2 separate regions of the Homo sapiens genome follow, and region 1 is linked to region 2. Evidence: promoter capture Hi-C in 16 types of primary human blood cells and fetal thymus (Javierre and others, 2016). All regions are on one chromosome and are shown on one strand. The core of a region is centred on a gene start or on the middle of the fragment in contact, and the rest is flanking DNA. Distances in the headings are between cores, read along the strand shown.

What was found. Contacts are between HindIII fragments. The CHiCAGO score rates a contact against its expected background, and 5 or more counts as called.
Region 1: a contact is called between a fragment that was not itself captured here and the fragment with the promoter of RAP2C-AS1 in region 2, in 3 of 17 cell types (total B cells, non-activated CD4 T cells and naive CD4 T cells). The highest score is 6.5, in total B cells.

What each region holds. Positions count from the first base shown.
Region 1 is chrX:134,804,188-134,810,795 of GRCh38, forward strand. PABIR3 (PABIR family member 3) reads left to right here and starts at 3,050. Exons shown (of 11, transcript NM_001388447.1): 1 at 3,050-3,154; 2 at 3,353-3,521. The coding sequence starts at 3,412. RefSeq lists enhancers at 3,407-3,566, 3,952-4,908 and a silencer at 6,444-6,513. The HindIII fragment of the contact is 1,289 bases long and covers 2,692-3,980 here.
Region 2 is chrX:132,215,373-132,222,175 of GRCh38, forward strand. RAP2C-AS1 (RAP2C antisense RNA 1) reads left to right here and starts at 3,135. Exons shown (of 3, transcript NR_110410.1): 1 at 3,135-3,465. RAP2C (RAP2C, member of RAS oncogene family) reads right to left here and starts at 4,075. Exons shown (of 6, transcript NM_001271186.2): 1 at 3,998-4,075; 2 at 2,860-2,969; 3 at 2,544-2,640; 4 at 1,624-2,434. The coding sequence starts at 1,896. RefSeq lists silencers at 2,065-2,504, 2,515-2,564 and enhancers at 3,997-4,066, 4,397-4,446. The HindIII fragment of the contact is 10,936 bases long and covers 1-4,618 here.

The DNA.
Region 1 (6,608 bases), core at 2,086-4,585, 2.6 Mb after region 2:
TCCCAAGATCATGGCATATTTCCCTGGAACTGGAAGGACTGATCAAGAAACACAGCTAGGTTGGTATAATAATGTGTGCGTAGAAATGGGGAGAAGTAAAAACAATTTCTTTAATGTTGTGTTTGCCATTGTAGCATATAGAATTCTTGCTGTTTTTGTATTACTTGTTCCTTTTGATATTCCAATTTGTGTATGTACTATGAGTCCTATTTATATCTTTACAGGTTTGGGGTTCCTGACATGTAGCTGTTCTTTTGTAAAAGAGAGCTCCTTCTCTTTGATAATAGCTGTAAACTTATTACCATCTCATATATTTAGTTATTTCATATTACTCCTTTTCTTAGAAACATAGTCCCTTAGTCACTCTTCCCTTGTCATTTTATTATACCTATTTTCTTAGTGTTGTTGTACTTATTTAAAAATTAGATACTTGTAATGCTTAGGCAGGATGAAATTTTGTCTATTTATTCAAAATATACGTATGAAACCTTACTACCTGCCAAGAATACTAGCAAAAGTTGAAAATTAAAATGAACACAATGGAGGTAAGATTCCCTTGTTCACTGGCCTGCTTCATATTTTTCTGTTATTCAGACAATTTGTTTTTTGACTCTGTTCTGTCTTTAATCACTGCCTTCTGCATTCATCCTGAATTTACTCAGCTTTAACCACCATCTTTTATAAACGTTCAGGTACCCTGGGAATTTTAACAGTGGCTTTTAGGACATCTTGATACTAGCCTGAATTCTCCTGCTATCTAATTATGTGCCATTAATCTCTTTGGAATTTTATCCAACTGTAAAATAGAAATGATTTACCTACTTTACAAGATAACTATGAAAGATAGGCTATTTAAACCTGCATTTATTCATAAAATAATTTCAGAAGTATTTATCAAGTGCTTATGAGTACAGAAATTCAAGGAGATATTCTGAGGCATCTCATTTTTTTTTTTACTTAAACAGAAGGGCAGAGGAATCTTGGCTTTGCCACTTAGTAGTTGCAACTTGAGTAAACCCCTCTGGGCTTTGGTTTCCTCCTGTGAAAAATGGGCATTGTGATGGTGCCTACCTCAAAGAATTATTGTAAACTTTAAATGCAATCACCTATTTAAAGTGATTAGGACAGTACCTGGCACATAGTAAGTGCCCAACAAACGGTAGCTATTACTAATCTGTCTTATATAAGGAATGGAGACTCCACATCATCCTCATGTCTGGGATTTAAGTAATCTAATTCTGCCTAATATACTCAAGTTTGTCTTATTCTATTCCCAGAATGAACAAAGAATACATATTTATTACCTTACATGTCATAACTTGTCACGAACTATCTCAAGACTGTCCCATTATTTTAAGTTCACCACTGGGTAGCTGAGCAGGGTTGATGATTGAACCAATCCAGATAAGTATGTGAAAACATTTTGTAGGCCAGGCGTGGAGGCTCATACCTGTAATCCCAGCACTTTGGGAGGCCGAGGCGGGTGGATCACCTGAGGTCGGGAGTTCGAGACCAGCCTGACCAACATGGAGAAACCCCATCTCTACTAAAAATACAAAATTAGCTGGGAGTGGTGGCACATGCCTGTAATCCCAGCTACTCTGGAGGCTGAGTCAGGAGAATCGCTTGAACCAGGGAGGTGGAGGTTGTGGTGAGCCAAGATTGCGCCATTGCACTCCAGCCTGGGCAACAAGAGCGAAACTCCGTCTCAAAAAAAAAAAAATGTTATCCGTAAAGTGCTATACCAGTGTTATGACTATTTTAATTAATAACTCCCATTTCACTAGGTTTATTTGCCTTGTCTGCCAGTTCTCTATATGGTTACTAAAATGTGTGGTTTTACAAAATTATTAGCATGGAGTTAAGATTTCAGTACTCAGTGTGGCTCATTAAGTGATGGTGAAAATTTCTAAAAGAGTAGTTCTTAAAACGATATGAGCCATGGCAGCATTCTTAGAATGTATGTAGCTTCTAATACTACCTGAAATGAAAACACTGATTTGCATTGATACTAAATTCTGAGATATTTGTTTTTAAAAAAGCCTCACTGCTTTAACTCAAATCTTTGTAAATTAGCTGAGGTCTTTATTTTTTATATGAATAGCTGTGAGGAGCCAGATTATATATAATGTAAAAATACACACTGAGGCAGGCGCGGTGGCTCACGCCTGTAATCCCAGCACTTTGGGAGGACGAGGCGGGCGGATCACCTGAGGTCCAGGAGTTCGAGACCAGCCTGGCCAACATGGTGAAACCCCGTCTCTACTAAAATACAAAAATTAACCAGGCGTGGTGGCGAGCACCTGTAATCCCAGCTACTCGGGAGGCTGAGGCAGGAGAATCGCTTGAACCTGGGAGGTGGAGGTTGCAGTGAGCCGAGATCGCGGCCACTGCACTCCAGCCTGAGCAACAAGAGCGAAATTCCATCTCAAAAAAAAAAAAACAAAAAACTGTACGATTATGGTTTAAAAAAGAAAGAAAGAAACCACACTGAAAACAGTAATTCGTTTGCCAAATGAGCTCAGTTAGGTTAGCACCTTAGCAAGACCCTTTGGGACCAAGTGGCCTCTAAGCACTTAGGTAGCAGTATCTTTTTTTTTTTTTTTTTTTCAGACTTTTGCTTTTCTAAAATTACAAAGGTGTAGTGTGTCTGCTGTTACAGGATGGAAAAATGCATCATAGGAGGTTAGAAGCTTGTTGGCCTCAGTCATAAAGGGATAAGAAAAATGAGAATTAGGCATAGGGCAGGAAGGACCTCACTCCTCCCAACGCTTTCATTTCTAAATAATGCTTAAGGAAACCATGCCAGGGTTAGTAAAAGAGTAGAGGCACAACCACGGTAAGTGGGCATTGGGGAAAGAGGAAGGAGGGCAGGACATGGGGATAAAGCGGTTTCTTAACTGCGCGTGCGCCCCTGGCAAAGCTGACTAAGGCGCCTGAAGTGACGTCATTGCCTGCATCACAACAGGCGTCGTCCGGCTGATAGCTTATCGCAGGCTCTGAGGGGCGGGACCCAACTGATTGTCAAAGGCGGCAGATTGTAGTTTTTGTTTTGGCCGGAAAGGCTTACCATGAGTTGCCAGGGCTGAGAGAGATGGAGAAGGATTCGCGGCGGTGACAGATTAAATTCCCCAGTTACATTATAGACTTGGAGGTGGGGGATCTTCTCATCGTTAGAGGCCCCGATCATGGGAGATAGGCGGTTCGGAGCCAGTTCTGCCTAACTTTGTGTTCACTGATGTTAGGGCTGCTAGGGCTGCAAAGGTGGGCACCCCTACTCGCCTAAGAGCTTTCTCCTCTCTTCTCTTTTTCCCCTTTGCCTCTCTCCTTACATCACCTGCCCACTAAGTAGACTTGTCCTTGTGTGGACGGGAGCCGGAAAGCCTTGAGAACTTATTCCTCGACCCGGACATGGCACAGGAGAAAATGAAACTAGGTTTCAAGTCGCTGCCGAGTTCCACTACCGCAGACGGCAACATTCTGAGAAGAGTCAACAGTGCCCCTTTGATCAATGGACTTGGGTGAGCCGGGTTGAGATACTGGAGGAGGCAAGCGGTGGGGAGGAGGTGTTCGGGAAAGTGATTTCCTATAGAATTCCCGTCCCTTTATTTGTTGAGGTTCTGCAGGTAACTCCCTTGTTCCTGGTGTCCGGAGATCCCACCCTCAACCTTGGGTGGGGGTAGTGGGACGGGCTGACCTGAGGGGGAGCGCGCACCCACCCTGAGGTTGACAAACATCTGAATCTGAACATCCTCCCCTGATAGTCCACTCGGACCCGAAAGTAGCAGCCAGTTGGTGTGGAGCACGGCTTTTTTCTAACTTCAACCCATTTCTTACCCACTCCTTTGAAGAAACTTAGTATCCTCCCCCACTCACCTCCAGATCTTCTGCCATGACTGTAATATTTGTCATTTCAGCTGCTTTGTCACCTCTGACCTTCACCTCCAGCCGCTTGAATGGAAATGGTTGTCAAGCAAATAAGCTTTGGACTTTTTTACATTTTTTTTTTTGTCTTTTTTTGAGACGGAGTCTTGCTCTGTCGCCCAGGCTGGAGTGCATTGGCACGATCTCAGCTTACTGTAACCTCCGCCTCCTGGCTTCAAGCAATTCTCATGCCTCAGCCTCCCTAGTAGCTAGGATTACAGGCGCCCACCACCACACCTGGTAATTTTTTGTATTTTTATTTTTTATTTATTTGTTTATTTATTTTTGAGACGGAGTCTCACTCTGTCGCCCAGGCTGGAGTGCAGTGGCGTGATCTCGGCTCACTGCAAGCTCCACCTCCCGGGTTCACGCCATTCTCCTGACTCAGCCTCCCAAGTAGCTGGGACTACAGGCGCCCACCAACACTCCCGGCTAATTTTTTGTATTTTTAGTAGAGACAGGGTTTCACCGTGTTAGTCAGGATGGTCTTGATCTCCTGACCTCGTGATCCGCCCGCCTCGGCCTCCCAAAGTGCTGGGATTACAGGCGTAAGCCACCGTGCCCGGCCTAATTTTTTGTATTTTTAGTAGAGACAGGGTTTCACCATGTTGGCCAGGCTGGTCTCGAACTCCTGGCCTCAGGGGATCCGCCTGCCTCAGCCTCCCAAAGTGCTGGTATTACAGACGTGAGCCACTGCTCCTGGCCTACACCTATTTTTTATTGGAGCAGAAAGTTTTGGTACCACAGAAGCTTGATCTCCTAAATTACACATTCTCACTGGGTGATACTTCCCCCAAGGGGAAGAGAAAATAGTTCTTGGGGGAGTGTGAAAAATTTTTACTCTTTTTATGTATAAAGCGCAGATATACATACAGTATGTACACAGATATATACTATATATGTGTTATTAAAATTTCACGAAGGGGGAGCAATTAGGGGAAAAATGTCTAAAAAGGCTTTTTAGAGGGTCAATAATGAAAAAAGGATTTAGAAACACTACACTAAATGATGGTTAACTGTATTTCTGAAGATCTGGGATTACTAAATCTTGTTTCCTTTTTTTTTTTTTTTTAAGACGGAGTCTCACTGTGTCGCCCAGGCTGGAGTGCAGTGGCATGATCTCGGCTCACTGCAACCTCTGCCTCCCGGGTTCAAGCGATTCTCCTGCCTCAGACTCCCGAGTAGCTGGGACTTCAGGCACCCGCCACCACGCCCACCTAATTTTTTGTATTTTTAGTAGAGACGGGGTTTCACCGTGTTAGCCAGGATGGTCTTGATCTCCTGACCTTGTGATCCGCCCACCTTGGCCTCCCAAAGTGTTGGGATTACAGGCGTGAGCCACTGCGCCTGGCCTAAATCTTACTTCTTAAACTAGACTTTTAAAATGAGATGTTGGATTTCACATTTCAGTATTATAAGGTTTTCTAGATACCGTAAAAATGTCTGAAAAATGCATTCACTACATATGTTACTAACTTTGCTCTTCACCTTTTGTTGCATCATACTAATTGATAGTTGTAATTCACAGTACCATAGACTATCAGGAAGGGATTCAGAGACCAGCTTTACCCTCCTTGTTTAACATATGAGGAAACTGAGGCCCATAAATCTCCAAAATGACGTTTAGTGGCAGAGCCAGTACTAGGAAGCTCTGTTTCCTGACTCCTAAACTACTGTTCTGGCCACTACTAACCAATACCTAAGCTGATTAACTCTAAATGAATGCAGCTTTTGGGTCATTTGAGGTAGGAGAGAATATATTGTTCACAAAATGAAAAGCAAACTAAGATTGACCAAAAAAAAATACATTACCTTTTTAAAATAGGCAGGTAGAAAAACATAGAAGGGGGACTCTGCATGTTGTGCTGAGAACAAGAACATTTTATTCACTCAGGATTTTGCTCTAATTCTGTTGTGGGAAAAAGGAATTATGGGACCCACTCTACTAGTAGAAGAGAGCAGTAGGGAGAATGTTGGATTTATTGAAGACAATATAAAAAGAAGAAATAGGTTGCAAATAGACGATGGAAGATGTGTACTGGAAGGAACCTGTGGATCCTCTTTAATGTATTAAATACACCAGAGAAGGAGTGGACCCTTCCCTAATCCTTAAAGCCCTGGAAACAGAGAGATCTCAGTTATCCCTTCATACCTTGCTTTGTTCTGCAAAGGATTTTTTTGTTTTGTTTGTTTGTTTTTTGCTTATATTAGAGCATAGCTACAGTGTTACATTCCATAGCTTAAGATCCTGATGCATGAAGTAAAATTTGTACAGAAAGATAAGGGTCACTAGCATATTTCTGTAGTAGGAGTTTAAAGATACAGAAACCACAAAGTGGACGGAGTCCAGGGACTCTAGTCTGTCAGAAAGAAGTAACATAGGAATGATGTGTGACATCCCTGAGATTAGGGGACTTGCCCAGATGATCTGAGGGCATATTTTGTGCTGTTGTAGAAAATGTAGGGCATAGTCAGAGAAGTTATTCTGAAGCAAGAAAAATTTAGAGTAGGATTACACTGAGCCTTAGTTGAATTCATTTTCACCTCAGTTCTCATTTGCATATGTATACTGCTCACTTTTCTCCCTTTTTTTTTCCTTCCTTGGCCCTCTAATACTTGAGTACTTCCTCTTTCTAAACTATACCTGGCCAGTAAAGCATTCTTTTCAGAAAGGTGAAAGTCAC
Region 2 (6,803 bases), core at 1,885-4,384:
TAAGTACAGAATATTCACATGTGGGCCTACGGAAAAGCAAGGGACTATGAAAATCTATAAAAATATAGTTATTTGATATTTGCATCAATTTGGTTTGATAATATATCAACTCAGATTTCTAGGTTACGCTTATTTCCCATTGTCTTTATGGAAACATAAGTTCAGCTGAAAATCCAAACTTAGGGCATTTGGGCTCAAAAGAGTTTACACCTCCACTGAAATAACGGCACAGTTTTTCACTCCCAATTCATGTCTATAACACAAATGGATATAACAGAAATCTTATGAAACACCCTTCAAAAGACTCTCAGCCTCCAGAGAGTAAGCTGATAGAATAACAAATCTCCTGAGGATCCTTTAGGGAAAAAATGCCTGTCAAACAGCACCTTCAGTACTTTGGTACTTTCTGGGGGAAAATGCTTTTATGATACTATTGTTTGGGAATTTATGCCTACATAAAATGAATTTAGTTTGGTCTCAATAGCTTTGATTTATTTCCCCAGAATTTATCATCTTAAAAAAAAAAAATCCCTGAAGTTGTTCTATCAGGTTACTGGGAAAGTTCACTATAGTACTTTAATTTAAAATACTAAAGAAAGTGGAATTAGCACATTGTATTGGCTAAAGCACTTAAGGTCTCTTAAGTAAGCTACATTAAGTGCATACCTTTAAATGCAGAAAAAATATATCCATTTCCTAAATCAATGGAGGTCAATATAATGGGTCAATATGAGGTTATTCATTTTCAAGGGATAAATAGAAACATACATTGCATATCCTAAAATAACGTTAAACCTTCAGTCTGTTTCCCAGTGAAGGACAGGACAGATTTTCTAAGAGATTGGACCACATCCAGTTTGGCCACCCAGCCGGAGTAAGAAATCTGCACTTGTTCAGTGTTCCCAGACCCACGTATTTTCTGTAAATACAGGCAATGTTACCAGAAACAATTTGGATCAACTGCAGAAAAAGAGTCATTCCTGATTTTTGTTGGTTATTAATTCTAGGTACTAGTCTTTTCTATTAGTAACTTTTCTTCCTACTACACGCCCCAAGTAATTAAGTAAAATGCCTAGAAGGCAGGTCTTGAGTTCTTCGTCTTGCAACACTAAGATTTATGAATCTAGTTGAGAAACTTGAGAGAGAAGGGGAGGGCGGCGGGAGGGGGTGTTGGGGGGTGGGAGGGGAAGGTGTGGGTGGGACAGACACAGAGGACTTATCTGTGCAACAGATAATCGGCTCCAAATAATTTTTTCAAAGTGCTCTATTTACCCGAGATTATTTGTTAGATGTTTTGTCGTGTAAGTTAATCAATACTTGTTGAATTGAGCAAGCAACTTCAGAAGGTTATATTCCAGGCGAAATATACACAGACTGACATTTCTTTTTCACTTTTCTTTCACTTAAAAATAGCTTTAAAATATTTGTTGACGCTTGTTACTTTTTACTACGCTCTATAGAAACAACCCGATAGTCTTCCATGGCAGGAGTAACCTCAAAAATGCGTCATGTCTAACTTTCAAAAGCAAAGCACAGTCATTAATGCACGGTTCAAGCAACCCAGAAGTCGATGTCGGATTACCACACCCCCTTCTAACAAATTACAAGACTTGGTTTGGTTACCTGAAAAGACTGTTGATTAACCAGGCTATAAACCAGGATGAAACCTTGGCCGTTTTTGATGTAGAGATCTCTCATGGAGGCAAACTGCTCAGTTCCTGCGGTGTCCAGAATTTCCAGCACGGAGGGGGAAGAGTCCACTTCGATCTCTTTGCGGTAGAAATCTTCAATGGTGGGGTCATATTTCTCAATGAAAGTCCCAGTGACAAACTGCACAGTAAGGGCAGATTTGCCAACCCCTCCACTCCCTAACACCACTACCTTGTATTCCCTCATGAGTCTCACCTTCACCAACTCCTACCAGAGGGGGGGAAAGATCACCCCGCTAGCTGTGGCGCGGCTAGACGAGGCGGAAGGTGGGCGGAAATCTGCGAACTGGGGAGGAGAGTGCAGAGGAGCAGAGGGCCCAACCGGGGAAGAAGAGGAAGTTACAGGAGGGGGAGGGGAAAGAGCGTAGAGTCGGGGAGGGTGGGGAAGGGATGGTAATGCCCTTCCTATAGGAACTGCAGCCCGAGCAGGGGGCGTGGGGAGGAGGGCGAGCCTGGGAAAAGCCCGGCGAGGGTGGCGAGGAGGCGCGTGCCCCCGGGAGGGAAAGGGTGGGGGCTGCGGCGAGGGGACCCTGCGGCGAGGCGGACGTCGGAGGAGCCCGCAGCCCGGGGCTGCCCGGCACTCCTCCCCCGCCCTTCACACAAAGGGGCCCAGGGACCCCGCTTCCTGCTCGCGCAGCCCAGCCGGCTCAGGCCTGAGGGCTCCGTTCCAGTTACCGCTGCCCGGGCGGGTTTCTGGGCCCCGGCTCCCGCGGGGGTCGTCCGGCCTGTGAAGGGGAGAAGGACGCACATTACCCGGCTGACCCCCGCCCCGAACCTGCGGCGCCGGCCGCCGCCTCCCCCAACTCCCACCCGGATCAAGCTACTGCCGCTTACCCCGCCGTCCGCACCCGCCCGGCCGCCGGGGAGGCTCTGTCACGCCAAGGCCATGGCCACCCGCTGGCTCCTCTGTCTCTCCGCTGCCCCAGCGCTGCTGCTCGCCGCGGGGAAAGAAGCGGGGGCCTTCCGCGGCGGCCGCAGGGACTCCAGGCGAACCCACCTCTTTTTTTTCTCACCCACCCCCCACCCCCACCCCCACCCCCACCCCCACCCCCACCAAGCACACACCCGGAAGGGTTTCCCTGACACACTGGCTGAGGTGCCCCAGTTCCCCGAGACTGGACGGGATCACTTCCGGTGGGGAAAGTCCCACCTCTTCGGGGCGAGCCGGGTGGCGCTGGAGCCGCGCCCTGCTGAGCGAGCGAGCCGGCCGGGGACGGTTTCGGGTCGGGACTCCGGCTTCGGGAACGGGCCTCTGGAAACCTGCGACGTCAGTCCTTACCCGCCCGCGGCTGCCGCGGACCGTCCCACCCCCAAACCCGTAGAAGCCCCTCCGACCTGCAACCTCCAGCCGCCCGGCCCTAGGACTTGAGCGGCTCCCTGGCCGGTGCGGAACCTGCGGGCTAATAATCTAGCGACCGGGAGAACGCCAAACATCCCTGGACTAGAAGTTGCAGGGGAAATCAAACAGCCCAGAAAGTTTATTCTCCTTGCTGGTATTTCTTCCACTTGCTATTTTGCTGAGAGATGCATGCAAACTACCCTTAGACTTTCAGATGCAGTGCGTTTTACTTAGCCGTGCCTGACAAACACACAGAACTTTTACCGTCTGGTAGATCCGCCTTGACTTTACCAGCGAATACTAAAGTCACTTAAAAAAAAATCACAAGGCTCGAAAACAGCAGCATTAGAAGTAGACTTTATGGTACTCTGCTCAGCTATGTTCTCATTTGATTCCAACCACTACACGGCAGAAAAGGTAACCAATATTCAAGAAAGATTTGATTGGAAACGGTTTAGGCCTAAAGACTAATTTATTTTAATCGTTGATTATGTATAACAATTTGCTTGGCTGGCTCTTACATGCTGAAGTTTTGTTTTAAAGGCCATCCTATGTAGTCTTTGAAATTCAAAAGCAAGTAGTAACTCTGGTGTTAGATTCTAAGTTTCTATTTTTAGATAAAATTGTTACTTCCGACTATCTTTCCCTTTGCTAGCTTTCTATTTGTAAACTTTGTGTCGGATCCACAGAGCCCCAGGGCCAGGAGTCTAGGCTGTATTTTAGGTGTGTCACTTTCTTTTCAATTCAAGCATGTACCCAGAAACCTGCGAGACTCAGTGGCCAGCCTAGCAAAAATGACTCCAAATTCCCTTACTTACAAGCCCTAAATGGCCAAACTCTATAAAGAGATTTATTACTCAGCCTAAATTGTTGGACATTAGAACACAGGCGAATCATAGTAGTGTGAGGTCCCACTGTCCCTCCCTGAGTATTCCCCAATGTCACTTACAGTCTTCAAAGGAGAGTTTAGTTCAATTTCTCCTTGACCTCAGGCCGGTGCCATCTCTCCAGCGAAGTCCCCAGCTCTGGCTCCAGCTGGCCTGGGCCCTGTGTCGTATCAGAGGCACTGCCCTCTGCTGGAAGGGGTTTGGTCTGTGAGTTATGAGTTTCCCCACAGGTCACTGCTCCTTTCACACGTGCTGTTGCCTGATTTGGAGCTCTGCTGCTCATCTCCCTGCCTAGCTGTCTCCAGACTGTCTGGTGGGATTCACAGCCCTCCACCAGCCGTGCTTGTAACTGAGTCTGGAAATTCCTCTTCTGATCCAGCCAGTGTTGAGCAATCGTGGCAAGTCTTTGCTCTATTACTAAACTGTCAAAGCAAGGAGTTCTTTTTCAGGTCATCCCACCTGTTGGCAATTCTAATATCTCTGAATGTGTTGGTCATGCTTAGGAGAGAGTTCTTTGTTTCTCCACGCAGTGAAACATACTCCTCCCCTCAGTACAGCGTCCTGTGGGGTCACTCTCGTCAACTACAGTGGACAAATATTACACTCAGTCTAAAGATCCTTCTAAACTTTCTTAGGAAGGGTATTCATTACAGCATTGATTAGGAAATCAAACAATTGGAAGAAGCTTAAATGTCCTTCAGTAGGTGATTTTTAAAAGTTTCATAGCTCTCTATATCTATTATCTATCATCTATCTATCTATCTACCAACCTACCTACCTACCTATCTGTATTCACAGAATAGGATATTATGCAGCTACTTTAAAAGAGAAAAGCAGATTTGTAAGTGTTTATATAAAAAGATGGCCAAGATATATTGTAGGGCTGAAAAAGCAAGATACTGAACAAATGTCTAGTTGCTACTGTTTATGTAAAACGCAGGTGTGTAATAGTTACATAGCCATTCAAATCTGAAACAAAGTAATTATGGGTGAGGACTATTATGAAATGGCTTTTATTTCTCCATATTTTAATTTATAAACAATAATTGGGAAAAAGGAAGTAAATATAACTTTATAATATTTTTAAAGGAGGAACAAAAGAAAGTTGTTGATCTTGGTTTTGTAAAAAAAAAAAAAAAAAATCCTGACTGTCTAGGGGTCAGTGGACAGGTCCGCCCAATTTAAACAAATTCCCTACCCTTGCTTGCCCTCCCCAAACATCTCTATACTTAGAAAAGTATTTTCACATACATTATCTCATTAGACTCCTGTTGTTTGCTAGTGTACTCTCATTAAGCAATGAGGGTATAAAGAGCAAGCAGAAGAGTGCGGCCTGGCAGTTGAGAGCTAAGGCTCTGAAATGAGACAGAGGTGCATTAAAATTGCAGCTCCGCCACATTCTAGCTCTGTGTCCCCAAGCAAGTGATTTCACTTGTCTGAGCCTCTAACTCCTCACTTGTAAAAAGGAGATAAGAAGTTAACGTGAAAATGTAATGAGGTATTACAGGTAAAGTGCTTAGCACAGTCCCTTGCACATTATAAAGCCTCAATAAATGCTATTTGGTTTTTATTTAAAAGATTTAATGAATTGTTAATTTTTAAAAAATAGCAAACATGGGGGTAACAAAATTTTAAAAGCTCAAATATCTGCAAGTGGCACGAAAATAATAATTCAGTTACTCTTCACAAAGATATTTATTGTTAAAAGCTTCTTATGTTTTTCAGGGGGGAACATTATTCATATGTCAGTGTATCAATCTACCTTCTATATATATTTTTAAAAATTACTGTACTACAAAAGTAATCAACTGTACACACTATTTTTTACCTTGCTTTTTAAACTTTAATTAATTAATTTTTTTAAGACAGTGTCTCCCTCTGTTACCCAAGCTGGAGGGCAGTAGCATGATCATAGCTCACTGCAGCCTCAACCTCCTGGACTCAAGGGATCCTCCCACCTCAGCCTCCCGAGTAGCTAGGACTACAGGTACATGCCACCACACACAGCTAATTTAATTTAATTTAATTTTTTTGGTAGAGATGGAGTCTTACTATGTTGCCCATGGTGGTCTCCAACTCCTGAGCTCAAGGGATCCTCCCGACTTGGCCTCCCAAAGTGCTGGGATTAAAGGCATGAGCCACCATGTCTGGCCTTCTTAATTTTTATTTCATGGCTGTATCATAAGCTAATTAGCCAGCTCCCCTTTGAAGGACACTGATTGCTTCTAGGTTTTTGCACTAAACGCCTTGGACATATATCATTGTCAGTTAATGTTTAGGGTGAATTTCTAGTAATTCAATAATTGAAACAAAAGGCACTTGCACTTAAAATTCTTCTGGTAAGTATTGCCAAATTGTCCTTCAGAAAGGTCACACCAATTCACATTCCCACCAATGCAGTATGACCGTATCATTTTATAACCTCACAGTAGGTATTACTAATTTTAGCATTTTATAGTGATTGTTACTTGCTTTAGGGTATTTTCAGGACTAACAAATGCAGGGCAGCGTTTTAGAAGGAATTTGGACTTCAGAGCCAGACAGTCCTAACACTGCCCTTTTGCAAGCTACACCTCCATTCCTTCATTTGTAAAGTTGGGCATAATAGCAGTATCTAACTCATAGAATAATAAATGAGAAATCCATTCAAAGCATTTAGCCTTCCAAATATTAATTGCTCAATAAATAGAAACTGCTCAAGTAATAATTTTCTACTCCAAAGGCTTGAATATGGGAAGAGGGGAATGGGAGGACTTCTCTAGAGATCATGCCCTTGAGATTCACAACTTTTGCTTTAATTCTGCATCAACCTCCTTTCCAAAGTATTGCTCAGGCATTATTTTAAAGAACACAACCCATTTTTACCAT